Linked DNA regions of Homo sapiens: all the other regions are linked to region 4. Evidence: promoter capture Hi-C in 16 types of primary human blood cells and fetal thymus (Javierre and others, 2016). All regions are on one chromosome and are shown on one strand. Each heading gives the region's core, a stretch centred on a gene start or on the middle of the fragment in contact. The rest is flanking DNA. Distances are from core to core; before and after follow the strand shown.

Region 1 (3,652 bases), core at 1,134-3,633, 3.1 Mb after region 4:
CTGTCTGAATGCTGCTCAGCATCACCCACCACCCAGAAAGGAGGAAAGGAGAACAGGTCAACAAAACACAGTTGGTGGCAATAAAAAAAGAAAGAAACTCAGTTTATGTTTCCCCAGCAGAGCTGGAGCTTCTCAGTAAACAGGTTATACCTGGGCTTGGTGGGGCACAGACAGACAGGTGACCAGGAACTGTCTAGGGTAGGAGAAGCTGACCTCCTAGACCTGTGCCTGCCCCCACCACTCTCTCTCTGGAAACCTTGAAGTCAGGCTCCCTGGCCCTGATACCGTGTGATGCTAACAGTGGGTACAGTGCAGTCGCTGGGTCTCTAGAAACCTGGATCCCCAGGGACTGATGACATCTTTACTCATTTCAGCAAGTCCCTGAAGCACCTGCCACATGCCAGGCAGAGAATACACCAGTGCACAGGACACACCTCATCCTGCTCCCAGTAGAGCGGAGGAGAGGACCAGACACAGCCGAGCATGGTAAGTGCAAAGGCTTCTGGTAAGAAAAGCATCTCATTGGAGTACTAGAGATGGACAGGTTTGGCCAGGTGAATCAGGACAGGAAATTACACCCCCAAGGAGCCACCACAAGGCCGTGTGAGCCACACTGAGCAACTCAGACTTCATCCTGGTGGCAGAGGGACATCATTCCAAAGTAAATGAAGTGGGGAATGAGTGCTTGATGAGCATGGGTTTATTTTTGGGGGTGATGAAAGTGTTCTGAAATTAGACAGTGGTGATAGTTGCATATACTCTGAACTAAAAGCCACTGAATTGTACATTTTTAAATGAATTTTCTTATGTGAATGTTACCTCAAAAAAAAAAAAAAGGCCGGGCATGGTGGCTCACGCCTGTAATCCAAGCACTTTGGGAGGCCAAGGCCGGCAGATCACGAGGTCAGGAGATCGAGACCATCCTGGCGAACACGGTGAAACCCTGTCTCTACTAAAAATACAAAAAAAAAAAAAATTAGCTGGGCGTGGTGGTGGGCGCCTGTAGTCCCAGCTACTCGGGAGGCTGAGGCAGGAGAATGGCATGAACCCGGGAGGTGGAGTTTGCAGTGAGCCAAGATTGCACCACTGCACTCCAGCCTGGGCGACAGAGCAAGACTCCGTCTCAAAAAAGAAAAAAAATGAAAGGAATATCTAGAAGGAACTTTCAATTCCAATCAAGATGGAGTAACAGGGACCAGATTTACTCTCCTGCCTGAAACTAAAAAACAAGACAAAATATATGAAATGAGGGCTGCCCAAAGAGTGAACATCAGGCGACAGAGAACAGCGATGCCTGAGGAATGTGAAATAAGTGAGGTGAGGCCGATGACTATCCTTACTGGCTACTTTTGAGTTTCCAGGCCTCAGAGTGGGGAAGAAAGGGAGGCAGGCAGAGCCCAGTGAATTTCCTGAGTTGAAGAGACAGAGCAGAGTCAGGCCAAGGCAGGCCAAGTTTGCAGAGCAGAGCACTGGAGAGGAGAGAGCTGCACAGAGAGAACCCTGGAAATTTGCAGAGGGTCTCCCTGTAGTATTCAGAAGAGCACTGATCCATATAGCTGAAAAGATCAGAGGGAAGAATTCCTGAAGCCCACACAGGGCTGGGAATAGTGTCTGCTCCCACCAGCTAGACAGGAAAACCTCATAATTCAGGGGGCAGCAGAGTCCTAAGCATCTCACACTTCAGTAGTAGGGGGAAATGAGCCCTGGGCTAAATGCTGCTCTGGTGATGCCTAACATTAAAGGCAAGTCTCAAATGAATCAAATTGCTTCTAGGTACCTTACCCATACTCTAGAACAAAGTTTAAGAATATTAATAGAAATGTAAAAATACCCAGCATGAAAAAAGGTAAAATCCATGGCTGGCATGGAAAGTAGAAAAATACAACTTGTAATAAGAAAGAAGAAATGGTAGCAAGATAATGGCATTCCTGACTGTTAGCTCCTACTATAAGAAGGTACAGTATCCTGAGAGGCAGGCTCAGAGGTAGTGTAGAGAAATGCAGAAGGTTTACAGAGTTGTAAAGGTATGAATAAAGTCTGTCTTATTTCAAAAAGTGTCAGAACAAAATAGCAACAACCCCCACAAGATGCAAATTATCTGTATTAATGGAGGAGCATCTGCTTAAAGTTCTCAGTCTCAGCACACATTATGCACATTGCAATCTGATTAACAGCAGATGAAAAGATCAGATCCCTCTATACTCAGTTCTGACCCAGAGGACGGCAATTAACTGGTAAGGGACTGACTAGTCCCCTTGCTCCCAGCCCTTGGTTCCCTCTACCACAAAAGACAATTTTCCAAAGCTTCAGTTTGTGTTGCAGAGTATGAAAGCCATTCAGAACTACACTTTGCTTTTTTTGTTGTTTTTGTGAGACAGCATCTCACTCTACCACCCAGGCTACTCTACCACCCACTTTACCACCCAGTGGCATGACTATAGCCACTCAAGTTGTAAGCTTGAACTCCTGGGCTCAAGCAATCCTCCTGCCTCAACCTCCTGAAACTAGGACTACAGGCATGCGCCACCACACCCGGCTAATTATTTTTAATTTTTGAGAGACAAGGGTCTCACTACATGGCCCAGGTTGAACCCAAGCTCCTGGGATCAAGCAGTCCTCCCACCTCAAACTCTCAAGTGCTGGGATTACTGGTGTGAGCCACTGTGTCCAACCTATACTTTGGTTTTCTTAGCAGCCCTATTTTACCTGAGGATGCTAAACCTATTACTCTCCCCTAAAGCCAAGTGCCCTAGTAGTCTTATGGTATTATCTTCTCCTAGAAGTCTGCCTTTCCACTAATTCCAGAAAGTCACACTGATTCAGTTGTATTTAGAAGGTAAAAAGTTTTAAAGTCAGGATAAGCGGTTGTAGGTGTTCTTAGTATTTCATGCCTAATATCCTTCAGCTTCCTCCAATGACAATGGCAAAGTGTTCACATTCTAACTTGACCATAGAAGCTACTGATATATCAAGGGAAAGACTTCTTATATAACTTAGCATCAAGCAAGGGTCAAATTCAGGTTACTACATGGCCCAAGCGAGTAAAGTGAGTTAAGTAGGCTAGGTCTCAGAAGAGACATGAAAGGTAAAAGGATCACTTCAGTTCTCACTGAGGCCATTTAAGGCAGGGTCTGTGGGATAGAAAGCCTATACTCCACCTAAAAGGCAGCAGCCTGCAATCTACCTCCAGCCCCAGCAAGTGTTGGAAACAGGGTCTACTATGGACACATCTCTTTTCAAGAGAATCTCCAAAGCCAGATTGGTGAAACACTGGAATTTTAAATAGTGGAAATGATTAAGGTTTTTAAAATATCCACCCCCTCCCTCAAAAAGAAAACCTATGAGCAACCATTTGCCATCTCTATTTTGATTCCAACCTCAGAACTGAGATCAAAATACCAGCTCTAATAATTTTCTAGCTCTTCACATCTTTGACAAATCAATGAACTTCTGCGCTTCATTGTCTTACCTGGGAAAGTGTCAAACATTAAACATAATAATGCTTCTCAAATACTCATGTCCAACACAAGGTAAACAACTAAATACAGTTTCCTATAGGTGGAGTGTAGACCTTACTATCAGTAAATTATCTCCAGTGATCTTTAAGGAATCTAATTGAAGATCCCAAGGAGGCTGAATTCTCAGATTTAGA
Region 2 (4,169 bases), core at 81-2,580, 3.4 Mb after region 4:
CAGCATAGAAAGGATAAAATTCATGCCCAGTTGAAATTCTTATACAGGCAGACTTTATTTTGTTGTGCTGTGCTTTTTGTGCTTTACAGATATTGTGTTTTTTACAAATTGAAGATGTGTGGTAATCCTGCATTGAGCAAGTTTGTCAGCACAATTTTTCCAATAGCACGTGCTCATTTCATGTCTCTTTCATATTTTGGTAATTCTCATAATATTTCAAACCTTTTCACTATTCTTATACCTGTTATGGTGATCTGTAATCAATGATCTGTGAGGTTACTATTTAATTATTTTGGGGTGCCATGAACTGCACCCGCATAAGACAGCTAACTGAAATGGTAAGTGCGGTGCATGTTCTGACTGCTCCTCTGACCAGCCATTCCCTTGTATCTCTCCCTCTCCTCAGGCTTCCCTCTTCCCTAAGCCACAACAATATTGAAATTAGGTCAATTAATAATCCTGTAATGACCTTTAAGTGTTCAAGTAAAGGGAAGAGCCAGACTTTAACAAAATTAAAAGTGCTACTTCAATGAACACATGAATAAGAAAGCAAAACAGCCTTATTGCTTATATGGAGAAAGTTCTAGGTGTCTGGATAGAAGATCAAACCAGCCACAACATTCCCTTAAGCCAAAGCCTTGGATTACCACAGCAAGGCCCTAACTTTCTTCAATCCTACCAAGGTTGAGTGAGGAAACTGCTTTAAGGAAAGAAGCCATCTCCATAACATAAACGTGCAAAGTGAAGCAGCAAAGGCTGACATAGAAGCTGCAAAAAGTTATTCAGAAGATCTAGCTAAGATCACTGATGAAGGTGGCTACACTAAGCATGTTTTTAGTGTAGATGAAAACAGCACTATATTGAAAGAAGATGCCGTATAGGACTTTCAAAGCAACAGGAAAGAATAATTCAATGCCTGGCTTCAAAGGATAGGCTGACTCTCTTGTTAGGCGATAATACAGCTGGTGACTTTAAGTTGAGGCCAGTGCTCATTTACCATTCCAAAAATCTTAGGGCCCTTAAGAATGATGCTAAATCTACTCTGCCTGTGCTCTAGAAATGGAACAACATAGCCTGGATGACAGCACATCTATTTATAGAATAATTTACTGAGCATTTTAAGCCTATTGTTGAGACCTACTGTTCAGAAAAGAAGATTCCTTTCAAAAAATTGCTGCTCACTGACAATGTGCCTGGTCACTGAGGAGCTCTGAGATGAACAAGGAGATTAAAGTTGTTTTCAAACCTCCTAACACAACATCCATTTTACAGCCCACAGATCAAGGAGTAATTTTGACTTTATAGTCTTATTATTTAAGAAATACACTTCATTGGCCAGGCGCGGTGGCTCACGCCTGTAATCCCAGCACTTTGGGAGGCTGAGGTGGGTGGATCACGAGGTCAGGAGATCAAGACCATCCTGGCTACCACGGTGAAACCCTGTCTCTACTAAAAAATACAAAAAATTAGCCGGGCTTGGTGGTGGGCACCTGTAGTCCCAGCTACTCAGGAGGCTGAGGCAGGAGAATGGCGTGAACCCAGGAGGCGGAGCTTGCACTGAGCCGAGATCGCACCACTGCACTCCAGCCTGGGCGACACAGCGAGACTCCGTCTCAAAAAAAAAAAAAAAAAAAGAAATACACTTCATATGGCTATGGCTGCTGAGATGGTCAAAATACCAACATTAACAGGAGTTTAAAAGAAGTTGATTTCAACCCTCATGGATGACTTTGAGGGGGTGAAGACTTCAGTGGAGGAAGTTGCTGCAGATGTGGTGACAATAACAAGGTAACTAGAATTCGAGTGGCGCTTGAAGATGTGACTAAATTGCTACAATTTCATGATACAACTCGAATGAGGAGTTGCTTGCTGTGGATGAGCAAAAAAAGTGGTTTCTTGAGATGGAATCTCCTCCTGGTGAAGATGTTGTGAACATTGTTGAAGTGACAACAAAGGATTTAGAATATTACATAAACTGGCCGGGCACAGTGGCTCACGCCTATAATCCCAGCACTTTGGGAGGCTGAGGCAGGCCAATCACCTGAGTTCAGGAGTTCGAGACCAGCCTGGCCAACATGGTGAAAACCCATCTCTACAAAAATAGAAAAATTAGCTGGGTGTGGTGGCATACACCTGTAATCCCAGCTACTTGGGAGGCTGAGGCAGAAGAATTGTTTGAACCCAGGAGGCGGGGTTGCAGTGAGCCAAGATTGTGCCACTGCACTCCAGCCTGGCGACAGAATGAGGCTCTGTGTCACACACACACACACACGCACAAACCCCCAAATATTACATAACCTTAGCTGATAAAGCAGCAGCAGGGTTTGAGAGGACTGAGTCCAATACTGGAAGAACTATTGTGGGTAAAATGCTATCAAACAGCACTGCATGCTACTGAGAAATCTTTCATGAAAGGAAAAATCAACTGATGTGGCAAACTTCCTTGCTATCTTATTTAAAGATACTGCCACAGACACCCCAATGTTTAGCAACTACCAACCTGATCAGTCAGCAACCATCCACGTGGAGGCAAGGCCCTCCAGCAGCAAAATGATTACAACTCCCTAAAGGCTGGGCTCATCGTCAGCATTTTTTAATAATGTATTTTAAAATTAAGGTATGTACATTTTTTTTTTTTAGACACAGTGCTGTTGCATACTTAGTAGACTACAGTATTATATAAACATAACTTCTGTATGCACTGGGAAACAAAAAATTCTTGTGACTCGCTTTATTGTGCTGGTCTGGAACTGAACCTGCAACATCTCTGAGGTACGCCTGTATTTGACCTTGGGTAAATTCGAGGGCTGAAAGAAGCCTTACCAAGAACTTTCAAAGAAGTGGGAACTATTCTCCTAAGAGAAGCCTCAGGATAGCAATTAGGAAATGAAGACAAAAGCAAAGCACTGAAAAGCTACTGATATTCTCTACTGAGGGAACAACCAACCACAACAAGGAATTGGTTTCTTGTGCCATGTGGCCAGAGTGCAAAATCCTGCAAGTGTACAGTCTGTAATGACAGATATCAGGCAGAATAGTATGAAGAGAAATGTGGAAAAAAAAAAAGACTGGGTTTCTGTACCTACATGTATGGCTTCAGCAGCTTTAAGAGGGGTGGTAACAAGTCAATCTTTCTTGTAAGCCTCAGTGAGGAAGCTGATTCTAGGACCTTCTACTACTTGCAAAGCAGAAAAGCACACAATGTCCAGGTATAGCCAGAAGAATATGCTGAACTTGGCAATGACATGTTAATTCTATCTCCATATATAGCTCTTTAATATGGCACTCATACAAGATGATATATATATATATTTTGCTTTTGAGACAGGGTTTCACTCTGTTGCCCAGACTGGCATGAAGTGGTGCCATCACAGCTCACTGCAGCTTTGATCTCCTGGGCTCAAGCAATCCTCCCACCTTAGCCTCCCAAGTGGCTGAGACTACAGGCACATGCCACATGCCGGGCTAATTTTTTATTTTTTTGTAGAGACAGGGTCTTGCTATGCTGCCTAGGCTGGTCTTGAACTCTTCAACTGCAGTCTTGACCTCCCAGGCTCAAGTGATCTTCTTACATAGGCCTCCCAATGTGCCAGGATTATAGGCATGACCACCATGCCAAGCTCCAGATGGTATTCTTAATTCAGCTCACAATGTGCCCTCATCAGATTGCTAGTGGCCAGGAGTGAACAACTGAGTGACTTTAAGAATCAGGACACCAGGAATATGTTCCTAGAAAGTGAAGGTATGAGTGGAAAACCTGGGTTGGATTATGAACAAGGCCCACATGTGTGCCAGAGTGGCCAGGGCAGGGAGCAGCAGCAGGTGCTGGTGAAAGGAAGGTGGATTACTGGGGCAATGCCCTGTCTTTGTGTTATGGTTTCTTTGAGGGAAGTAGATAAGTTTCAAGTAACTGCTCTAGGTCAAGGTAGGGATAGGCACCTGGCAGCTCTTGGTTAAGTTAGGAAGAGCATGGAATGGTCAGAATACAAGCCATACTTGTGTTCTGGGACCTAGTCCCTACCCAGCACCTGGGGCAAGGGAAGCTTGTTATCCCCTGCACACCCAGTAAGTAGTAATGTAACTGACTCTATTCCTCCAGTGGCAACTTGTCCAAATAGAGAGCTGAGATCTGAACTCTAGTGAATTGGAAGACCACACATTCTGAAATA
Region 3 (4,152 bases), core at 1,024-3,523, 3.1 Mb after region 4:
TTAATGAAAAATGATCTTGCTGAATTACGAGCTAGTGGCCAAATCCTAATGGAATTTGAGACAATGAAGCTTGAGGATTTCTGGTGTGCCCAATTCACAGCATTTCCAAACCTGGCAAAGACAGCTCTAGAAATCCTTATGCCATTTGCAACTACATACCTTTGTGAGTTGGGATTTTCATCACTTTTACATTTCAAAACAAAGTCCAGAAGCTGCTTTAATCTGAGTGATGATATCCGTGTGGCTATTTCAAAAAAAGTTCCTCGTTTCTCGGACATCATTGAACAAAAGCTACAGCTACAGCAGAAGTCACTGTAAGCTGATATACTTTTTTAATGAATAATTTCAATCTTAATATCATTGTAAAATTAAGCTGTAATTCTGTCTCTTTCATATTTATGATATACTGAATTCTATGTCTAAAAAACTTAAGAACTTTAATTTTGAATGAGGCATGTGAAAATATGTTTTGAGAATAAAAACACAGCAGAAAAGATTAAGTACTACTGCCTAGTTGCTATCATGAGATTTTCCCAATTCTAAGTATCTGTTTAACCTGTTCGTGTGGTATATGAAAAAGATACCTAAGCACTAGAATATCCAGCTAAATGGTGCAATAGGCTAGGAATTGAGCCAGGAGAAAAGAGAAGATATCCCAGAAGTCAAAAAGGCAAAATGAAAGATTGAGTTCGCCCGTCTTTGTTATGGAGAGGTTAATGAAATCAGAAGAGGATTATGAAATATAATGGGAAAAGGAATGATCTGGCTTATGTAAGACTTACTTTTAAATATACTCTTTGGAGTTAGTCTCACAATGTCCATTCCCCTAGCTCCTGTGCTATGAATATCATATTAATAAATAGCCTAATATATTAATCACTGTTTGTCATCTTTAAATTACTTCAGAACTCCAAGTTATCAAGGCTGCTGAAAAGGAGATTCCTGAGCCTTACCCTAGAGATTGTGATTAGTAGGCCTGTGATAAGGTCAAGGATCCTCATTCATAACCAGCTTTCCAGACTGTTCTGATGGATTCTTGGATTCTTGGGTCCTCTGGGTTCAATTTTTCCTATACTTATTTTTCCTTTACCCTAATTTTGTCACTTATATTACATCTTATATGTATTTTTCTAAGTTCAAAATGTCAGAGTATAAATCATAAATAAATTGACATGAAATCAATGGAGTAATTCAAGACCATCAAAAAATTCCCCATGGGAATCTAACTTAGCACACTTTTTCTGGATGATAATTTGGCAAAATATTTTTTAATTTAAATAAATTTTCATTTCTATTTTTAAACATTAATATTTTATCAAAGTACTACATGCTCAAGGCTGGGAAAAAATGATATAGAGAGTCCTATAAGGAAAAGCCACAATCCCCTTCCTGCCCAATTACCCATTTCTTCTGTAATTTCTTGTGGTTCCACCCACATCTCTTAAGTAGTATGTTCATACCATGACATATAGCAGTTGAATCAGCTTTAAAAGTTATATATTGACTCCCCTAGATAATATGTAAGGATTGAATTTATAAAATATCCATCTCCTACTACTCTCAATTTTTTATTATTATTACACTAATGTTAGTCTCTTTGTTGGTTATTTATAGCCCTTTGATTAAGAATTTTTCCTCTATAAATTTATCATGTGGAAAGAATCAGGAATGTCCAAAAGTTTTACTTATAAGGTGGCTAATCAGAACACTTTTATAATACTGAAAAATAAAAAATAAACCTGAAGGGAAATGGAACCTGACTACCAAATTTAGATGCCACATTAGTACGCAAATCAAAGTTTATATTTTATCAGTAAGTATAAATACACACCTTTTTTCACTGAAAAATGTAGTAACAGAATATAGGTCCTAATTTTCCTATTACAATCTAACATCAAAGACAGAAAAATTTCCAAAGCTAATATGGAAATCTAGATGTGTAGGCCAGGTGCGGTGGCTCATGCCTGTAATCCCAGCACTTTGGGAGGCCAAGGTGGGCGGATCACTAGGTCAGGAGTTCGAAATCAGCCTGGCTAAAATGGTGAAACCCCACCTCTACTAAAAATACAAAAATTAGCCAGGCATGGTGACATGCGCCTATAATCCCAGCTACTCAGGAGGCTGAGACGGAAGAATTGCTTGAACCCAGGAGACACAGGTTGCAGTGAGCTGAGATTGTGCCACTGCACCCCAGCCTAGGTGACAGAGTGAGACTCCATCTCAAAAAAAAAAAAAAAATCTAGATGTGTGTATATAAAGTTTAATCTGTATGCAATTCTAAAGTTAGGAAGGAGGTAGGAATAGGGACATGGGCATGTATGAAACCTAGGATTTAATAGTATGATAGAAGGACCAGGATTAAATGACCTTTGATAGCCAGTCTTTCATTAGGTCTTAGACTAAATTAGTTATTGCTGCTCTGAAACAAAAACTCAAAGGACATTTTTAAGGAAATGGCTAACTAGGATTTTTATTCATTTTCAAATTCTACAACAATTTTATTTTCTCCTGATCAAATGAAAGAGCTGCAGTGTTTGCTAAAATGAAGGAATTTCAATTTTTTTTAGTTTAAAAATGTCCCACAGTGGTACATATATTGGAATTTTTAGTCATGTGTTGGTTTCTTTTTTCCCAAAGAAGAGATAATTACTTTTCTTATGTTTTATTTTAGAGTCATTGATAAATTTTGAAAAGGAGTAAAATAGAATAAAAACATAATCTTCATGACCAGCAGATGTCACTCTCTGTATAGGTTTGAATGAGAAAGCAACTTTACTCACATTACAGATTTTGCCAAATAGCTGATTTTAAACATCTCTAGAAAAGGTACTAGTGGCTCAAATTTAAAATTCCTTACCTGAGCCTCTGTGGACTGAAAACTGGCAGGCAGAACTCTGTTGGAGCCGGTAACCATGAGACTGCAAGAAATCACTGGGAAACCCAGGTGGGAAAGAAAATATCAATGACTTTTTCTGTAATACAAGCGTGTGCATTTTTGACATCCTCACTGTTTGTCTAAGCCACCAAAAACTGCTGAAAGTTAGTAAATAATAGGTCAGCATTTTCAGGCATGAGCCAATGGGAAGCAAAACCAAATAGACTTACACTTTTTTTTTTTTTTTTTTTTTTTTTGAAGCAGAGTCTTGCTCTGTCGCCCAGGCCGGAGTTCAGTGGCGCCGTCTTGGCTCGCTGCAAGCTCCGCCTCCTGGGTTCATGCCATTCTCCTGCCTCAGCCTCCTGAGTAGCTGGGACTACAGGCACCCGCCACCACGCCCAGCTAATTTTTTTGTATTTTTAGTAGAGAGGGGGTTTCACCATGTTAGCCAGGATGGTCTCGATCTGACCTCGTGATCCACCCGCCTCGACCTCCCAAAGTGCTGGGGTTACAGGCATGTGCCCCCGCACCCGGCTAACTTATACTTTTAAAGAGTGAACTTGATGATACTTGAATTATATCTCAATTTTTTTTTTTTTTTTTTTTTTGAGACGGAGTTTCATTCTGTCACCCAGGCTGGAGTGCAGTGGTGTGATCGTGATCTCGGCTCACTGCAACCTCCACTCCCGGGTTCAAGAGATTCTCCTGTCTCAGCCTCCCAAGTAGCTGGGATTACAGATGCCCACCACTGCGTCCAGCTAATTTTTGTATTTTTAGTAGAGATAGGGTTTCACCATATTGGCCAGGCTGGTCTCAAACTCCTAACCTCAAGTGATCCACCTGCCTTGGCCTCCCAAAGTGCTGGGATTACAAGCATGAGCCACTGCGCCCAGCCTCAATTTTTAAAAATAGACTCTGCGGCCGGGTGCAGTCGCTCACACCTGTAATCCCAGCACTTTGGGAAGCTGAGGCAGGAGGGCTGTTGAGGCCAGGAGTTCAAGACTAGCGTGAGCAACATATCAAGACCCCGTCTCTACAAAAAATAAAATTAGCTGGGCATGGTAGCACATGCCTGTAGTCCCAGCTACTCAAGAGACTGAGACAGGAAGTTTCCTTGAGCCCAAAAGGTTGAGGCTGAAGTAGGCCATGATGGTGCCACTGCACTCCAGCCTGGGTGACAGAGTGAGACCTTGTCTGAAAAAAAAAAAAAGGCTGGGCACAGTGGCTCACAGCTGTAATCCTGGCACTTTGGGAGGCCATGGCAGGAGGATCACTTG
Region 4 (3,731 bases), core at 564-3,063:
TGAATTACAACACAAATTAGAATTCCAGCCTTGCAGAGTGACTATTGTCAAAAGGAGGGCACTTACTGAAAAAAAAATGGGATTCTGTAAATTAGGATTGGGACATATGGGAAGACCTTGATGAAGCTGGGGACATTAAGCCCCTAAATTCTGATGAGTCTTCTTTGCTAGTGGAGAGGCTTCTCAACCCCATTGGAAGCAGCTTCTCCATTTCCAGTGATAGTACCCTCCAACCTGTCTGTGATGATTAACACTGCATTGCCTGAGGAAATTGTAATGGCCTCCTTTGAGGCAGTTGATATGCAAGACAATGTTGGTTCTCCTCCAGACCCAACTCCACCACCCTTCTTTGCTTCTAGACCTGAAACTAGACAGGAACAAAGTGTTACCTATGAAGAGATGTGCTATACTCCAAAGAGTTACTCAAAGTCTCTAATTTATACAGACAAAAATCTGGGAACATATGTCGGAATGGATAATAAAGGTGTTGGAAAATGATGGAAGGAACATAAAGTTGGATCAGGTCAAATTTATTGACATGGGCTCACTAAGCCAAGATTCTGCATTTAACATTGCAGCTTGGGGAGTTAGAAAGGGTGCTCACAGTTTGATTGGCTTACTAAAACATGGAAAAGATGAATTGGAAGTGCTGGACATGCCTTGGTTTAATCTAGAGGATGGGATTAAAAGGTTTAGGAATATTGGGAAATTAGATTTTTCACTTAAGAACTACTCATCTCGGGTGGATCATGAGGTCAGGAGATCGAGACCATCCTGGCTAACAAGGTGAAACCCCGTCTCTACTAAAAATACAAAAAATTAGCCGGGCGCGGTGGCGGGCGCCTGTAGTCCCAGCTACTCGGGAGGCTGAGGCAGGAGAATGGCGTGAACCCGGGAAGCGGAGCTTGCAGTGAGCAGAGATTGCGCCACTGCAGTCCGCAGTCCGGCCTGGGCGACAGAGCGAGACTCCGTCTCAAAAAAAAAAAAAAAAAAAGAACTACTCATCCACACTGGGAAGGTCAAGAAAGCATACCTTTCACCAATACTATGAGAAAGAAATTTGCGAGGAGAGCTCCAGCATCTTTTTCAGAACTCTGTGATGGCTCTTCTCTGTAGGCCAGAGCTCACTGCAGTCACTGAACTGGAAAACCTAAATATAATGGAAGTAAAGGATCCCAGGGTGGCAAGGGTCAAGTAATGGGACTCAACCACCAAAGGCAAGGTGAAGTGGTTATCATAATGACAGAGCCAAAGGAACAATTAGAATAATCTCACTTGTAGACCTATGCTTTGGCTAGTTGATCATGGTTTTCCTAGACGTGAAATAGATAGGAAGCCTACTGAAGTCTTAACTTGATCTGTATAAGCAGAAAACTTCTAAGTCAAGTGACGAAAGTTGAACTCGAATCATAAAAACAGAATCGTGGTCCCTTAATTCCCAAACTTGAGCCACTTTATAGAGCCCAAAACCCTTTGATTGAAGGGGAGGACCTCAAAGGGACCCTGGTCCATAACCAAATGTTTATACTGTTAGTCTTTCTCCTAGTCCTCCGCAAAGGGATGTACAACCTTTACCAACGTAACTGTGCATTAGAAAAAGGGAATAATCAGATCTTTTGTGAACTAGTGGACACTGGCTCTCTGAAGTGACACTAATTTCAGGAGATCCAAAGTGCTACTGTCAGGGTAGCAGCTTATGGAGGTCAGGTGATCAGCAGAGTTTTAGCTTAGTTCCATCTCACAATGGGCCCAGTGAATTCCTGAACCTATCCTGTGGTTATCCCCTAGTTCTAGAATGTATAATTAGAATACAGTCAGCAGCTGACAGAATAATCCACACATTGGTTTCCTTACCTATGGAGTGAGGGCTATTATGGTGGAAAAGGCCAAGTAGAAGCCACTAGAACTATCTGTACTTAGGAAAATAGTAAACCAAAAGCAATGCTCAATTCCTATAGGGACTGAAGAGATTAGTGCCACCATAAGTACTTGAAGGAAGGCGGGGTGGTGATTCCTACCATATGTCCATTCAACTCGCCTATTTAGCCTGGGCAGAAGACAGATGGATTATCACAAACTTAACTAGGTGGTGACTCCAATTGCAGCTACAGTACCAGATGTATTGCTTGAGCAAATTAACACAACTCCTGGTTCCTGGTATGCAGCTACCTGGTATGATCTGGCAAATGCCTTTCTCTCCATCCCTGTCTATAAGGCCGACCAGAAGCAGTTTGCTTTTAGCTAGCAAGGCTAGAAATGCACCTTCATGTCCTACCTCAGGGCATATCAACTCACCAGCCCTGTCCTAATTTTGTTCACAGGAATCTTGATTGCCTTTTCTTTCCACATCACATTGGTCCATTACATTGACGACATTATGCTCACTGGACCTAATGAGTGAGACATAGCAACTACTCCAGACCTATTGGTAAGACATTTGCATGTCAGAAGTGGGAAGTAAATCCAACAAAAATTCAAAGGCTTTTTCATGTCTCAGTAAAATTTCTAGGGGTCCAGTGGTATGAGGCATGTTGAGATACCCCTTCTAAGGTAAGTTTTTGCATCTGCCCCCTCCTACAACCAGAAGAGGCATGACATGCGGCAGGCCTCTTTGGATTTTGAAGACGTTTCCTCATTTGAGTTTGTTACTCTGGCCCATTTACTGAGTGACTTGAAAAGCTGCTAGTTTGGAGTAGGACTCAGAATAGGAAAGGTTCTGCAATAGGTCCAGGCTATTGTGTAAGCGGCTTTGTTGCTTGGGACATATGAACTTGCAGATCCAGTGGTATTTGAAGTGTCAGTGGCAGATAGAGATGCTGTTGGAACCTTTGGCAGGCCCACATAGATGAATCTCAGTGCAGACCCTTAGTATTTTGAAGAAAGACCTGTTATCCTATGCAGATAACTACTCTTTTGAGAAACAGCTCTGGGCCTACTGCTGGGCTTCAGTAGGGACTGAATGCTTACCGTGGTCAATTAAGTTACCATGCGACCTGAGCTGCCCATCATGAGCTGGGTGTTATCTGACCCACAAGCCATAATGCTGGGTGTGGACAGCAGGAGTACATCATCAAAGAACGTGTTATGTATGTGACTGGGCCCAGGCAGGACCTGAAGGCAAAAGCAAGTTACATGAAGAAGTGACCCAAATGCCCATGGTCCCTGTTCCTGCTACCTTGCCTTTTTTCTCCCAAGCTCATGGAGAGTTCCCTATGATGAGTTGACAGGAAGAAACAACATGGGCCTAGTTTATAGATGGTTCTGTGTGATATGTAGGCATCACCTGAAAGTGGATAGCCATAGTACACCAGCCCTTCTCTGGGACATCCCTGAAGGATAGTGGTAAAGAGAAATCCTCCCAGTGGGCAGAACTTTGGGCAGTGCACCTGGTTGTTCATCTTGTTACCCCATGTTGGCTAAAAGTAGAGGTCCTGAAGCATTTTATTATTTATTTATATATTTTTTAGAGATGAGGTATCACTATGTTGCTCAGGCTGGTCTTGAATTCCACCTGCCTCAGCCTCCCAAAGTGTTGGGATTATAGGCGTGAGCCACTGGGCCCAGCCCATTAAACCATTTTATTTTATTAGACAATTTTTCTAATTTCTACGTTTCTTCTGAACTTAATTTAAAAAACTGTATTTTAAAATTCAACCATGTATTAAGATCTAATAAAATAATAATGAAAAGCAATTCTGACTGATAGTCCCTGTTGAGCCATCAGTGAGAAC
Region 5 (4,066 bases), core at 825-3,324, 3.0 Mb after region 4:
CTTAGAATACAATGTAAATTATTTGAGAGTTTCCACTTTTTAAAGTAAGCGTTGCCTTCCCTTTCACATGAAGGAAAACCAGACATGGAAGGGGAAAAGTGCTCCAACTTAGGTGGTTTTGCTCTGTTGCCCAGGCTGGTCTCAAATTCCTGGATTCAAGCAATCCACCCACCTCGGCCTCCCAAAGTGCTGGTATTACAGGCGTGAGACACCACAACCAGCCAACAAGGCACTTTCACACAAATCTCACTTCACTCTCAAAAGCCATAAAGAAATGCCATTGCCATCCTCACTCGATTAAAAAAGATGAGGAGAAGCAAAAAGAAGAGAAGGAGGAGGAAGAGCAGTAGCTAAGCAGTTAAAACATCCACCTAGCACATACAACTAACACTTTTGACCATTCGGCCCCACTGTCTGGCTCTTGGAGACATAAACAAAAATGGTTTCTTCCCTAAAGGAATTCAAAGACTAGATAAGGTGGCAAGGTATACAGATGAAAAATAAGTAACTGCAGAATGCTAGATAAACATGTACTCAGCCTGGCCTTCACAAGAGAGGCCAGCAGCTGGTAGAAAGGAGAACTTTCATTCGATCCCTCTGTAGGTCCTGCAAGCTCTGCCTTCACAGTACACGTAGAATCTAACTGTTTACCCTCACCCAAGCCACCATCAGCTCCCACCTAGGAGATCTGCAACAGTGAGGTCTCCTGATTCCACTCCTGCCTCTGCAGTCCACCCTCCAAATAGCAGTCAGAGGGATCTTATTAAAAGATAACTCAGAAGTAGGAGTTGAACAATGAGAACACATGGACACAGGGAGGGGAACATCACATACTGGGGCCTGTCAGAGGGTGGGGGGAAGGGGAGGGAGAGCATTAGGACAAATACCTCATGCATGTGGGGCTTAAAACCTAGACGACAGATTACTGGGTGCAGCAAACCACCATGGCACATGCATACCTATGTAACAAACCTGCACCATCTGTACGTGTATCCCAGAACTTAAAGTATTTAAAAAAAAAAAAAAGAGGCCAGGCACAGTGGCTCACGCCTGTAATCCCAGCACTCTGGGAAACCCAGTCAGGCAGATCATCTGAAGTCAGGAGTTCAAGACCAGCCTGGCCAACATGGTGAAACCCTGTCTCTACAAAAATACAAAAATTAGCTGGGCATGATGGAGGGTGCCTATAATCCCAGCTACTCGGGAGGCTGAGGCAGGAAGAATTGCTTGATCCTGGGAGGCGGAGGTTGCAGTGAGCCGAGATCATGCCATTGCACTCCAGCCTGGGAGACAGAGCAAGACTCTGTCTCAAAAAAAAAAAAGGAGAGATAAATCAAATCATGTCACTCCCCTGCATAAAGCTCTCCAGCAACTTTACATCACACAGAGAACAAAACCCAAACCCCTCAGCATGGCCTACAAGGCCCATGTCATCTGGCCCCTGCCTCTACCTCCAATCGCATTTTCTACCATCCTTCCCTCATCCATCCACTCCTGCCCACCTGGCCTCCTTGCTGTTCTTAATTGCACCAAGCTGTTACCTTTTCCTGGAATGCTCTTTCCCAAAATATTTCTACTGTTCACCTGTCACTTCTTCCAGACTCTTCTCAAACCTCACCTCATCAGAGTCCATCCCTCACCCACTCTACCTAAAGGAAACACAGACATGCCCCACCCATCCCCCAAACGTTCCAGCCCCTTGCCTGCTTTTCTGCCTCATACAATTTATTATTAGTTTACAGTTACTTATTTGTTTACTGTCTTTCTGCCTGGTAAGAGTGAAAGCTTCATGGGAGTAGGCCCTTTAACCAGAAGAATGCCTGGCACAGAGTAGGTCAGTTTCTCAATCTTTTTTTCATTATCATCCTTCTAAGGAACCTTTTCAGACTTTTTTTTTTCTAATCCCCCCACTATGAAATGTTAACACTACAGATATATTATATGTCTATATATACTGTATGTATATTTGTGCTTTACACATAGAGTTTTTTTTCACCTCCTAAGGGCCAATTTTCGTGCTCTTTGAGGGGAGGCATATCTTCCCCATGGAATAGGTGCTTGATAAAAATGTGTTGAATGGATAAAACTCCTGAGGAGAGCAGCAAGCTCTGAAAGATGGACATTGTTCAAGGTATAAAGTTCAGCTGGGGAAATTCCAAGCCTCCCCCCACTCAACCCTCCCATCTTTGTAGCATGAGTACATCCTGTCATGCTGTGTCTGGTGACTATCCGGTATTTTTCTAATGCAGATTTTCAGCTTTAAAACAAAACAAAACCCTACTCTTGTTTTGCATCCTGGCTCCCACTGCTATTTTGGATCCTTGAATTCACTTTTTCTCCACCTTCCTCCCCAGGCAAGCTTTAAAACCCAGATAAGGCCCGCTCCATTCGTACACAGTTTATTCTTTCCTTCATCCTACAACCTGCACTGAGTTCCTATGTGAACCAGATGAAAAGATGATGATGATTCAATCCCTGCCCTCTGGAAGCTCATGAGGATGTGAGGGTAGACAAACAGGATGCTAAGTTCAACACACCAAGGGCTCCAGGAGGAGCAACAAAGTGCTTCGAAAGGACAACTGCACTGACCCAGTGGAACCTCTCCTTGCTCATCCATTCACCCATCACTGACTTACAGAGCACCTGCTGCATGTGTCGGGCCTGTGCTAGATCCTGGGGTTGCAGCACAGACAAGACCAGCATGGTCCATGGAGATCACAAAACAGGAGAGACTGAAATCTCACTGATAATCACACAGATAAGTGAGCCCAAATGTGATAAATGCGACCAGTGGAAAAGCTCAAGATTCTATGAAGCACCTGGTAGTTGGAAAGAAATGACATTTAAGGAGAAACCCTGAAGAATAAGTAGAGCATGGTCTGGCAAAGACCAGGTAAAAGGGAGTTCCAGGCACAGGGAACAGAATGTCCAAATGGTCACAAATAGGATGTGACCAGGCACACTTGTGAGGACGGAGAGAGACTCCTCTACTGAGGTCAATAACGAGACTAGGGATGGCATGAGGAGAGGAAGGTCCAGAAAGGCAAGAGCCGATTCATGTTGGCCTTGCTGAGAAATATGGAGTTGACCTTAACTAAAGACAGAGGAAACACAGAAGGAATGTGATCCAGGCTGTATTTTTTAGATATTTTGGTTGGGTGTGGAAAACAGCTGGGAGGAGGGTAAAAAATCATCCCACACATCTGTCATCCAATCACGCAATTTAACATGTGATCCTGCAGGGTCTTGCACCCATAGGTGCAAGTCCTGTGAGACTGTGAAATTCTCAAAGGTAGATATCACATTTTCCGCCTCTTTTTACCCCGTCCCACAACAGCAGTGCATGGTACATGGTAGACAATTAGAAAACACTTCTTGAGTAATTATTTTATAATAACAAATTCTATGTTTTTATTATGATTAACCACTCCTTCTCTCTGCCCTCTGAAAGTTCCCCTCCCGTCCTCAGTCATCTTCCCATCCTCTGCCTGACTGACATATTCTGTTTCGGAAGACCACAGTATCTTTCAGATGACCTCCCACAAGCTCCCAGTCACTGCATTGCATGGAAAGCTGGACATCAGGGTGGTGACGATCTGAATAGTAAGCCATTGGTCCCCTTGCTGCCCCCAGCCCCCACCTGTCCCTGGTCACCCAGACCCTCAAACCTCCAGTTCTTCGGAATCTATATCTCCAGTGAGGCACTAGTTTGTTCCTGTGCCGCCAAAGCAGCCAGGCCAAAATAAACTTAAACTGCACAGTCGGAGCCATTCCCCAGCCAGAATGGGGAACAGAACAGAGCAACACAGCAAAGTAATTGCCTCCTATTTACCAGGACGTACTTTGCACTATGAGCCATTTTGTCAACTTCATGAGATTTGCAGTCAGAAAACACGGAAACAAAAGAGCAATATGAAGGTCTTTTAACCACTGACCATTTACATTTGTCAGCATGACTGCTCCATCCATTATTATCATTTCCCCAGCGCACAGCCCAGGAAAACTGTAGTTGCATTAGATCAATAAAAAACTGAATTCTCTTTTAAGACAGAGTCCTATTGTGTAA
Region 6 (4,209 bases), core at 122-2,621, 3.1 Mb after region 4:
GCATTTTTATAATAGTAGTACTACTGTATAGGCTACCTTTATAATTGTAATATTGAGTAAAGGAAATAGTGTGCTAGCCATACTTGCCAGCAGTTTCTTCTTATTTGATTCTTATATTGGTCCTTTACTCCCTGACTTAGGTAGCAAAAGATATTGGAAGCATGAAGACAGATTAGTGTCCAAAGCTTTTGGTTTTGTGAGGTTAGAAATGTATGGCCCCAAGCTATAGCTTGCCCATGAACCTATTTTATAGTTGCCTCCCATAGCATTTGGGAGTAGTAGAAAGGGAATGGATAATTTGTTTCAGAAAATTTTATTTTATTTTAACCCAACTTCAGTTTTTACTGTTATGATTTGACCTATTCACCCTTATTCCTTTGAAGTCATAGTCACACTGCCTTTTTTTTTTAATTAGAGGTATCATTTTAAAATTATAAGATTTCATATAAAAATCTGGATTTCATCTTTTCTTGAATATTGTAATATATGGTAACCCCACGCCTGCCTGGTAAGAGTCAGTCATCTAGAGTTCTGTGGCAACTGCTTGTTTTTGTCAGGGCTTGCTCCCTGCAATTTACTACTGATGCCATTTGGCTCAGTTTACATTAATGCCTGGTTCAAACACTGTGTAACTCCTGCTCTTTATAGAGTAATAGGTCTAGGGCTACAAGGAATCCCAAAGAGATAGGTTTGTTCAGTGACCTTTTCTGAAATAAATTAATTTAAAGTTATTCATTTTAAATATATAAAAATTTAGGTGGTGACTTGAATGTTGTAAGTAAAATTTAAATGTTTACTTTTTCTTTCTTTCTTTCTTTTTTTTTTTTTTAAAGGCAAAACGAACATTGAAAGCCCAGAAACTCCAAGAGGAATTAGCCTCAGGAAAATTAGTGGAACAGGCTGTAAGTAATGAAAATGATCAATAAAAAGGTTTTATTTCTTTTAAACAAAGAAATGAAAATTGAAACAAGAATTCATTTTATAGCTCTTCAGTTAGGAAGAGAGAAATGCTATTGGGGGAAAAATAAAACTGATACTTTGTATACAGTTCATAGTAATATAAATTGATGCAGTCAGTTTGGGAACAATATTGCCACTATTTATATTTAGACACACACAAACATTTACTTTTTCAAGTTAAATTATTAAAGCTATCCATCCTAAAGAATTTTCTAGAGTTTAGAAAAATCATGATGCATAAAGATAGTACAGCATTTTTCACAATAGTAAAGAAATTGGAATAGCTTAAATGTCCAGGAACAGGGAATTGGTTAAGTGCATCTGCATGGTGTAATGCTGTGTAGTTCTTAAAATGGCATTTCTCAAGACTTCATTAACAACACTGGTTAACACTTGTATTTGAATAATACATGAAAAGATAGTATAATATTATCACACAGAAAAAAAGACCAGAACACTAGTTTTTATTTAATGTAGAATTTATGAATTTTTCTTTCTATTTCTTTAGTATTTTCTGCATTTCCCACAATGAATATGTATTAGTTATATAACTGGGCAAAACATTTTTTATATGAATGAAAGGTCTATTGCAGCCAGTTTTTTTTTCTTTTTTAAAAATCCTTGTCAATAGAGTAAATATATTATGCATATTAGAGTTGTCAAGTTTCTTTTTAACAAATCTAGGCACAAATAAATAGTAAACATTTATAGTTTTTTAGTTTAAATTTCTAAAAGGGACTCTAAACCATGTATAAGTAACAAAGCAAACAGAACTTGAAATAATTACCAAGTAAGCAGTTACCGAGTTACTAAGGTAACCTACCAGGCAAGTTAACATTGTAAGTTACCAGATAGGTGTTTAAAATCCATCTCTGGCCGAGCACAATGGCTCACACCTGTAATCCCAGCACTTTGGGAGGCCGAGGCAGGTGGATCATCTGAGGTCAGGAGTTCGAGACTAGCCTGGCTAACATGGTGAAACCTCATCTTTACTAAAAATACAAAAATTAGCTGGGTGTGGTGGCGAGCACCTGTAGTCCCAGCTACTCGGGAGAATCGCTTGAACCCAGGAGGCAGAGGTTGCAGTGAGCCGAGATCACGTCACTGTGCTCTAGCTTGGATGACAGAGCGAGACTCTATCTCAATCAATCAGTCAATCAGTCAATCAATAACAAAATCCATCTCTGCTCCATGAGACATACATGCTCTTAGAAAAGTGAATTTGCCGGCCGGGCGCGGTGGCTGACGCCTATAATCCGAGCACTTTGGGAGGCCAAGGCGGGTGGATCCCAAGGTCAGGAGATCGAGACCATCCTGGCTAACACGGTGAAACCCCGTCTCTACTAAAAAATACAAAAAATTAGCCAGTCGCGGTGGCGGGCGCCTGTAGTCCCAGCTACTCGGGAGGCTGAGGCAGGAGAATGGGTGAACCCAGGAGGCAGAGCTTGCAGTGAGCCAAGATCATGCCGCTGCACTCCAGCCTGGGCGACAGAGTGAGACTCCGTCTCAAAAAAAAAAAAAAGTGAATTTGCCTCTCTGAGCTGCAGTTTAGTATGTCTGAAATAGAAATGATAACACCTACCCCCAGGAAGCTTATATACATATCACATAGTAAACACTGGGTAATTAGTAGCTATTATTGTTGTGATTATTTTTATTTATTACTAACTTTGGGAAAAGAAAAAGGGCCTGTTTCTTTTGTTCTAATGTATTCTCTGTTGTTTGTTGTAAACGTAATGTAATTTATTTCCCCAGTAAGGATACTTAATGTATGTAAGGGGCTAATGATTTTTGCCCACTTGGATGCTTGGATTATTTTTTTTTTATATACTTTAAGTTTTAGGGTACATGTGCACAACGTGCAGGTTTGTTACGTATGTATACATGTGCCATGTTGGTGTGCTGCACCCATGAACTCGTCATTTAGCATTAGGTATATCTCCTAATGCTATCTCTCCCCGCTCCCAGGATGCTTGGATATTAAGATGAACCACATACAGTAGATTTAGAGACTTAGCTGTCACTATAGAAATGTATGTAAATGTCTTTGGTGAACTAGCAAATAGTGGGAACTCAAAAAAATTATTTTTTACAAAATATTTATATTTCTAATTTTGAAAGTAACACATATTAAGTGGAAAAAAATTAGAACATAATATAAAAAAGAAAATATCCCTGTGTTAATTGTGAACATTTTGAAGTAGGCCTTTCCAGGTCTCTCTTGTCCACATATACCTGTTCATGTGTGCTAGAATACAAAATGTTTCTTACATGAATCCATCTTTATATATTCATTTATTACCTTCTTTTTTAATTTAACAACATAGAGTACAGTGGGAACGTGTTTTCTGTCTATATTTATAGACCTATAGCATCATTTATTTTTGTATGAATTCACATGGCTCAAAAATTAAAACAATTTAAGAAGATGCACAGCGAAGTCTCTCCACCCCTGTTTCTATCCACCCTAACACTAAACTTCCCCTCGCCCCAACTCTTTTGTGTATGTGTGTGGCTCCTTTCAGACTGTCTTGAATAAATACAAATACAAATATATACCCTTATCCTATCTGTCTCTCCCCTCCCCTTTTTTTAATCAAAAAAGTTAGGAAACGATACATACTTTTCTGCCCCTTGGATAGAATCACTTTTAATGGCCGTTCAGTGTTCCATGGAGTGCAATACATTATATAACCAGTGATCTATTAATTTGATTTTTTCCCAGTGTTTTGAAAAAACATTGCACATATACAACACTGCACATCACATTCTTATACATCTTTATATAATTGACATGATACTAGGATAACCTTCTAGAAGTGTATTTCAGTGAGTTTGTATTTCTAAAATTTTTATGACATATCACTTAGCCATCATTCAGAAAAGCCATGCAGATTTATGCTTCCATCTATATAGTATATATACATACACGTGTTTCTGCATCTCCTCACTAATGCTATAATGTATTCTCTTTTTTTTTAAGTATTTTTAATCTTTGAAGCCTTTATGAAGGGACATGATGAAATACCACGTTAGTGTAGGCATTCTGTGGAGTTAGAAAGTATTCTGACCAATTGCTAGCGAAGAAAAGTGTATCCTTGTGACAAGGAGTTTGGCCTCTCCTTAAATTACAATACTGTGTCACTTGTAGATTTTTTTCATTGCCCAAACTTCACTTTGGCTGTGAAGACATGAACCCAGTAATATTTTCTTTTTGGACTTACTAGGAAACTAGTAACGTTTAATGAA
Region 7 (3,863 bases), core at 234-2,733, 3.0 Mb after region 4:
GGTCAGGCTGGTCTCGAACTGCTGACTTCGATCCACCTGCCTCGGCCTTCCAAAGTGCTGCTCATGAGCCACCATGCCCAGCACCTCTGTTTCTTTATCCTCAGAATAAGGGTATTCAAAGAGCCCCCTCTTCCCACCCCCATAGAGCTATTATGAAGAATAAAAGAGATAAAGCAGGTGAAATGCTCATCCCTGGTTCTTAGTAAATGGGAACAAGTATGACAAGTGTGAGCCAACGTTATGACAGGTATTGTCCTCTATTTGAACTCTACTTGCTTTCTCAAAATCAGGAACCTCTTCGTTTTTGATAACTCACCATTCCTCCCTATCTAAACATGCTATCTGAACACAGGAACAAATTAGATTCGGAGAATTAAAATGCTTAGAAGAGGAGTCTGAGCTAAGCCTTGAAAGATAAGTAAAACTTCAATAGGCAGGGGGAGCAGGGGGGCGGAAAGAAGGGAAAACAGGACTTCCTTGCTAAGGAAGCAACATGAATTAAGAGAATGCAGCAGTAAATATGTCAAAGGAATGGCCAAGAACCCGGAATGGGTACCTCCATCATGGGAGACCAGTGGGGTAATCTTGGTAAAGTTTTAAATCCTGTGATGAGGAGCTTTTAGAACAAAGTAGATGCTGAAGGTTGAGGAACAATGGAATTTCTTGACCCAACAAGGAAGTGAGGAGGGCAACAAAAGTGAGAATGGAAATGAGAAAGAACCTAAGTTACCCTAAGATGTGGACTATCTAGGGTTTGGTGACCAGTTGGATGTTTAGCTAGAGAAGGTAAGGAATAAGTTAAAGACCAACTCCAGACTTCCAGTTAATGCAATAAATCTGAGTTTTCCCTGACAGGTGGAGGTGGAAATGGGGGTACAAGTGGGTTTGTGTCATGTTACCAAACACAGTTTACTCTTTTATTTTTAATTTGCAACCTGTCAGAAGCCCTGAGCCTGCTTCTCTTTCATTCATGCAATAAATATTTATTGAGCACCTATTGTGTATCAACTGCTGTGTTATAAGCCAGAAATACAGCAGTGAAGAAAACACAGTCCTTGATCTCACAGACCATAAAATCGACTTGGGAGTCCAGGCAGGTGAATGGACAATCACAGTCATGCTCAGACAGGAGAATTCATGGGATACTGGGATTTCAAGTAGGAGCACCTACCCCAAGTTTGGGTTTCCTTGGAAACATAGGAAGTTATTTCAAAGCTGAGCACAGAAACGGAAGTAGGATTTAAGAAGGCAAAGACCGGAAAGAATGTTTTTTCAAGCAGAGAAAACAGCAAGTATGATGGCCCTTGAGAGGTGGAGGAGCTACAGAGGTAGAATTTGGCTGGATGGAGGATGGGAGATGAGGAGTGGGCTGAAGTGGGACCAGATCACCACATAAGGTGTTTGAATTTCATGCCAAGGAGTCACTCTCCGGATATTTCTCAGTGCCAATGTGAGGTAGCAGCCACCCTTGCCCTTACAGCTCCAGTGTGCACACTTAGAAGGATGGCCTCTAGGCACATGTGCCTGGAAGCCTCCCCCGAAAGCCTGTGCAGAAGCACGAGGCAAGCCAATGAAGCAGAGCCAAGTTTTGATTTGAAAACGATGACTTTGCTTTTGTATCAGATTTCTAAATCGAGGTTTTTTATTTCAGCCCCACCAATGTCATGTGCACTGAGTTCCTTCTTTCACCCCCTCTTAAAAAAAGAAAAAAAAAGAAACCCTTGTGCAAATATCCATATGAAAGTAGATATACGTGTATGACAAAGTGGGTCATTCTTAAGTACAGAACCTTATCTGTAGACTTTTCCCATCCTTCCATTTGCCAATCATAATAGCTCCCAAGTTTCAGTTCTTAAAACCCTTGTCTCACCCTTAGGACACAGTAAGAGCCAGTTTAATTTTGATGTTGGTTCTGATGCTTGTAAATGTTATGTAACTTGTCCAAGGTCATCTAGCAATTTCTAGGTTTATAAGGGCAAAATAGCTTGGTTTGCTGTTTCACTACTTACTTATCCCACTCTCTTCCTCTCCATTTATTTTCTCTTTCCTTTCCTACTCTCAGTTGCAAATAATAAAGACTTGTGGGCTTGCCTTAAGCAATGGAGATGGGGGAGAATGTGCTATGGAAGTAATAAGGCGTATATATAGGGGAACCCAAGACCCTCAGTGGGGCATCAGTAGGAACAGAAACATCCCAGAGGTCAGTCTTGGAGATGCTGGCCCTCAATCCAAGGAGGCCCCAAGGAAAAGTAGCAGGAGGTCCTTGCCCTTGAGTGTCTGCCTTGAGTCTCTGTGATTCAGCTGTTTTCAGGGAGTTTCAGTCTCCCTCCTCTCTAGATAGGGCCCTGGGCTATCTAAAGGACATTATCAGGGTAACTGGTGATATCAGACTGAAGATTAGACAATAGTATTGTTAAATTTCCTGAATTTGATCACCATATTTTGATTGTGTAAGAGAATAGCCTTAGCCTTATCCTCAGGAAATATATACTAGAGGATTTAGGAATAAAAGGGCTTGATATGTGCAAACTACTTTCAGATAGTTTACAAAAATGTATATGGTGTGTGTGTGTGTGTGTGTGTGTGTGTGTGTGTGTAATGAGACAGAGAGAAGCAAATGTGGCAAAATGTTTACAGTTGGTGAATCTGGTTTAAAAGTATTCAGAAGTTCTTATTCTTGCATCTCTCTCTCTCTCTCTCTCTCTCTCTCCCCCCACCCCTTCGCCCGCCCCCACATATATATACAAGAGAGTGTCTCACTATGTTGCCCAGGCTTGGGTGCAGTAGCCTGATCCTAGCTCACTGCAGCTTCAAATTCCTGGGCAAGCAATCCTCCCACCTCACATTCCCAAGTAGCTGGGACTACAGGCATGCAGCACCACGCTAATCTTTTCTATTTTTTTGTAGAGATGGGATCTTGCTCTGTTGCCCAGGCTGGTCTTGAACTCCTGGCCTCAAGTGATCCTCCTGCCTCAGACTCCCAAAGTGCTAAGATTACAGGCATGAGCCAGTGTGCTCAGCCTTGAAAATAAGTTAACAAATGAGATTATAGGAAACAACATTAATTTTTTTTTAAAGGCCAAAAATGTAGTCTTGGACCAGATGCATAAGAATGACTCAGGGACTGGTTGAAAACACTGTACCAGTGCCTGAGCCCCATGCCAGAACAATGGAATCTGCATCTCTGGGGCTGAGTTCTAGGAACTGGCTTGTTAAATACGCATCTCGAGTGACTTCTATGTGCACTAAAAAGCACAACTTTCACCTATTGTGTCAAGACCACTCCAGATTTCTCACAACTTCAGCCCTCTGAGGTATCTCTTAAATAAAAATTATCAGTAAAGAGAGGCTCCAATAGCCCAGCCTATCTTAGATGCCAGGCCCCTTCTCAGGCTGCTACAAATCCATTTGTTGGCTGCCGTGGGGGTCAAGTGGCAGGTCCAACATCATTGGCTCAGAACCAGGGTCCCTTGGTCCTCTTGGATATGCCTCTTCTGGCTGGACTAGATTCACCAAAAGAGTGATAAGAAGAAACACTCTGCCACCGATTCATCTAATTTAATAATTTAATAAAGATTTCCATAGCAAAGTCTTTTTCAGCAAACACCAGGTGTTTTCTTCCATAATAAGAATATTGACCCCTGAAAATTGGAGGTAATGGGGAAAGTTTTGCATAATTCAGACACAGTCTTTGAAAAGCAGAAACTTGGAAAGTCTCTAGGCGACTTGAAAGTAAATGTTTTCCCCAAGGACCAATGGTTTTATTATATAGTCATACACTGTGTAATGATTTGAGTGCGTGAGGCATAAAGCGGCTGAACTATTTATCAAGGCTTTATGAACATCCGGCTTTCCAATAAGGA

The links. Contacts are between HindIII fragments. The CHiCAGO score rates a contact against its expected background, and 5 or more counts as called.
Region 1: a contact is called between a fragment that was not itself captured here and the fragment with the promoter of HMMR-AS1 in region 4, in 10 of 17 cell types (naive CD8 T cells, non-activated CD4 T cells, total CD8 T cells and 7 more). The highest score is 25.3, in naive CD8 T cells.
Region 2: a contact is called between a fragment that was not itself captured here and the fragment with the promoter of HMMR-AS1 in region 4, in 1 of 17 cell types (total CD4 T cells). The highest score is 5.5, in total CD4 T cells.
Region 3: a contact is called between a fragment that was not itself captured here and the fragment with the promoter of HMMR-AS1 in region 4, in 2 of 17 cell types (naive CD8 T cells and non-activated CD4 T cells). The highest score is 8.4, in naive CD8 T cells.
Region 5: a contact is called between a fragment that was not itself captured here and the fragment with the promoter of HMMR-AS1 in region 4, in 8 of 17 cell types (non-activated CD4 T cells, M0 macrophages, activated CD4 T cells and 5 more). The highest score is 11.5, in non-activated CD4 T cells.
Region 6: a fragment that was not itself captured here is called in contact with the fragment with the promoter of HMMR-AS1 in region 4 in 1 of 17 cell types (total CD4 T cells); the score reaches 5.8 in total CD4 T cells.
Region 7: a fragment that was not itself captured here is called in contact with the fragment with the promoter of HMMR-AS1 in region 4 in 2 of 17 cell types (activated CD4 T cells and naive CD8 T cells); the score reaches 9.6 in activated CD4 T cells.

Annotation. Positions count from the first base shown.
Region 1 is chr5:160,429,092-160,432,743 of GRCh38, reverse strand. No RefSeq gene overlaps it. Among named protein-coding and RNA genes, the nearest start is that of PTTG1, 9.1 kb to the right of the region's middle. RefSeq lists an enhancer at 225-314. The HindIII fragment of the contact is 153 bases long and covers 2,307-2,459 here.
Region 2 is chr5:160,055,875-160,060,043 of GRCh38, reverse strand. The region is part of intron 7 of TTC1 (tetratricopeptide repeat domain 1); the gene reads right to left. It also overlaps a transcript of PWWP2A not described here. Among named protein-coding and RNA genes, the nearest start is that of TTC1, 49 kb to the right of the region's middle. The HindIII fragment of the contact is 5,431 bases long and covers 1-4,045 here.
Region 3 is chr5:160,389,872-160,394,023 of GRCh38, reverse strand. It overlaps FAM200C (family with sequence similarity 200 member C), which reads left to right. Exons shown (of 2, transcript NM_022090.5): 2 at 1-876. The coding sequence ends at 318. Among named protein-coding and RNA genes, the nearest start is that of FAM200C, 8.1 kb to the left of the region's middle. The HindIII fragment of the contact is 4,404 bases long and covers 72-4,152 here.
Region 4 is chr5:163,492,140-163,495,870 of GRCh38, reverse strand. It overlaps HMMR-AS1 (HMMR antisense RNA 1), which reads left to right and starts at 1,813. Exons shown (of 4, transcript NR_109892.1): 1 at 1,813-2,172; 2 at 2,322-2,428. The HindIII fragment of the contact is 5,178 bases long and covers 1-3,731 here.
Region 5 is chr5:160,475,899-160,479,964 of GRCh38, reverse strand. All of the region lies in intron 1 of MIR3142HG (MIR3142 host gene), which reads right to left. Among named protein-coding and RNA genes, the nearest start is that of MIR3142, 3.5 kb to the right of the region's middle. RefSeq lists enhancers at 2,049-2,343, 1,928-2,476. The HindIII fragment of the contact is 574 bases long and covers 1,788-2,361 here.
Region 6 is chr5:160,409,144-160,413,352 of GRCh38, reverse strand. SLU7 (spliceosome associated SLU7) reads left to right here. Exons shown (of 16, transcript NM_006425.5): 6 at 834-902. Among named protein-coding and RNA genes, the nearest start is that of SLU7, 7.8 kb to the left of the region's middle. The HindIII fragment of the contact is 2,367 bases long and covers 188-2,554 here.
Region 7 is chr5:160,450,744-160,454,606 of GRCh38, reverse strand. No RefSeq gene overlaps it. Among named protein-coding and RNA genes, the nearest start is that of MIR3142HG, 16 kb to the left of the region's middle. The HindIII fragment of the contact is 7,393 bases long and covers 1-3,863 here.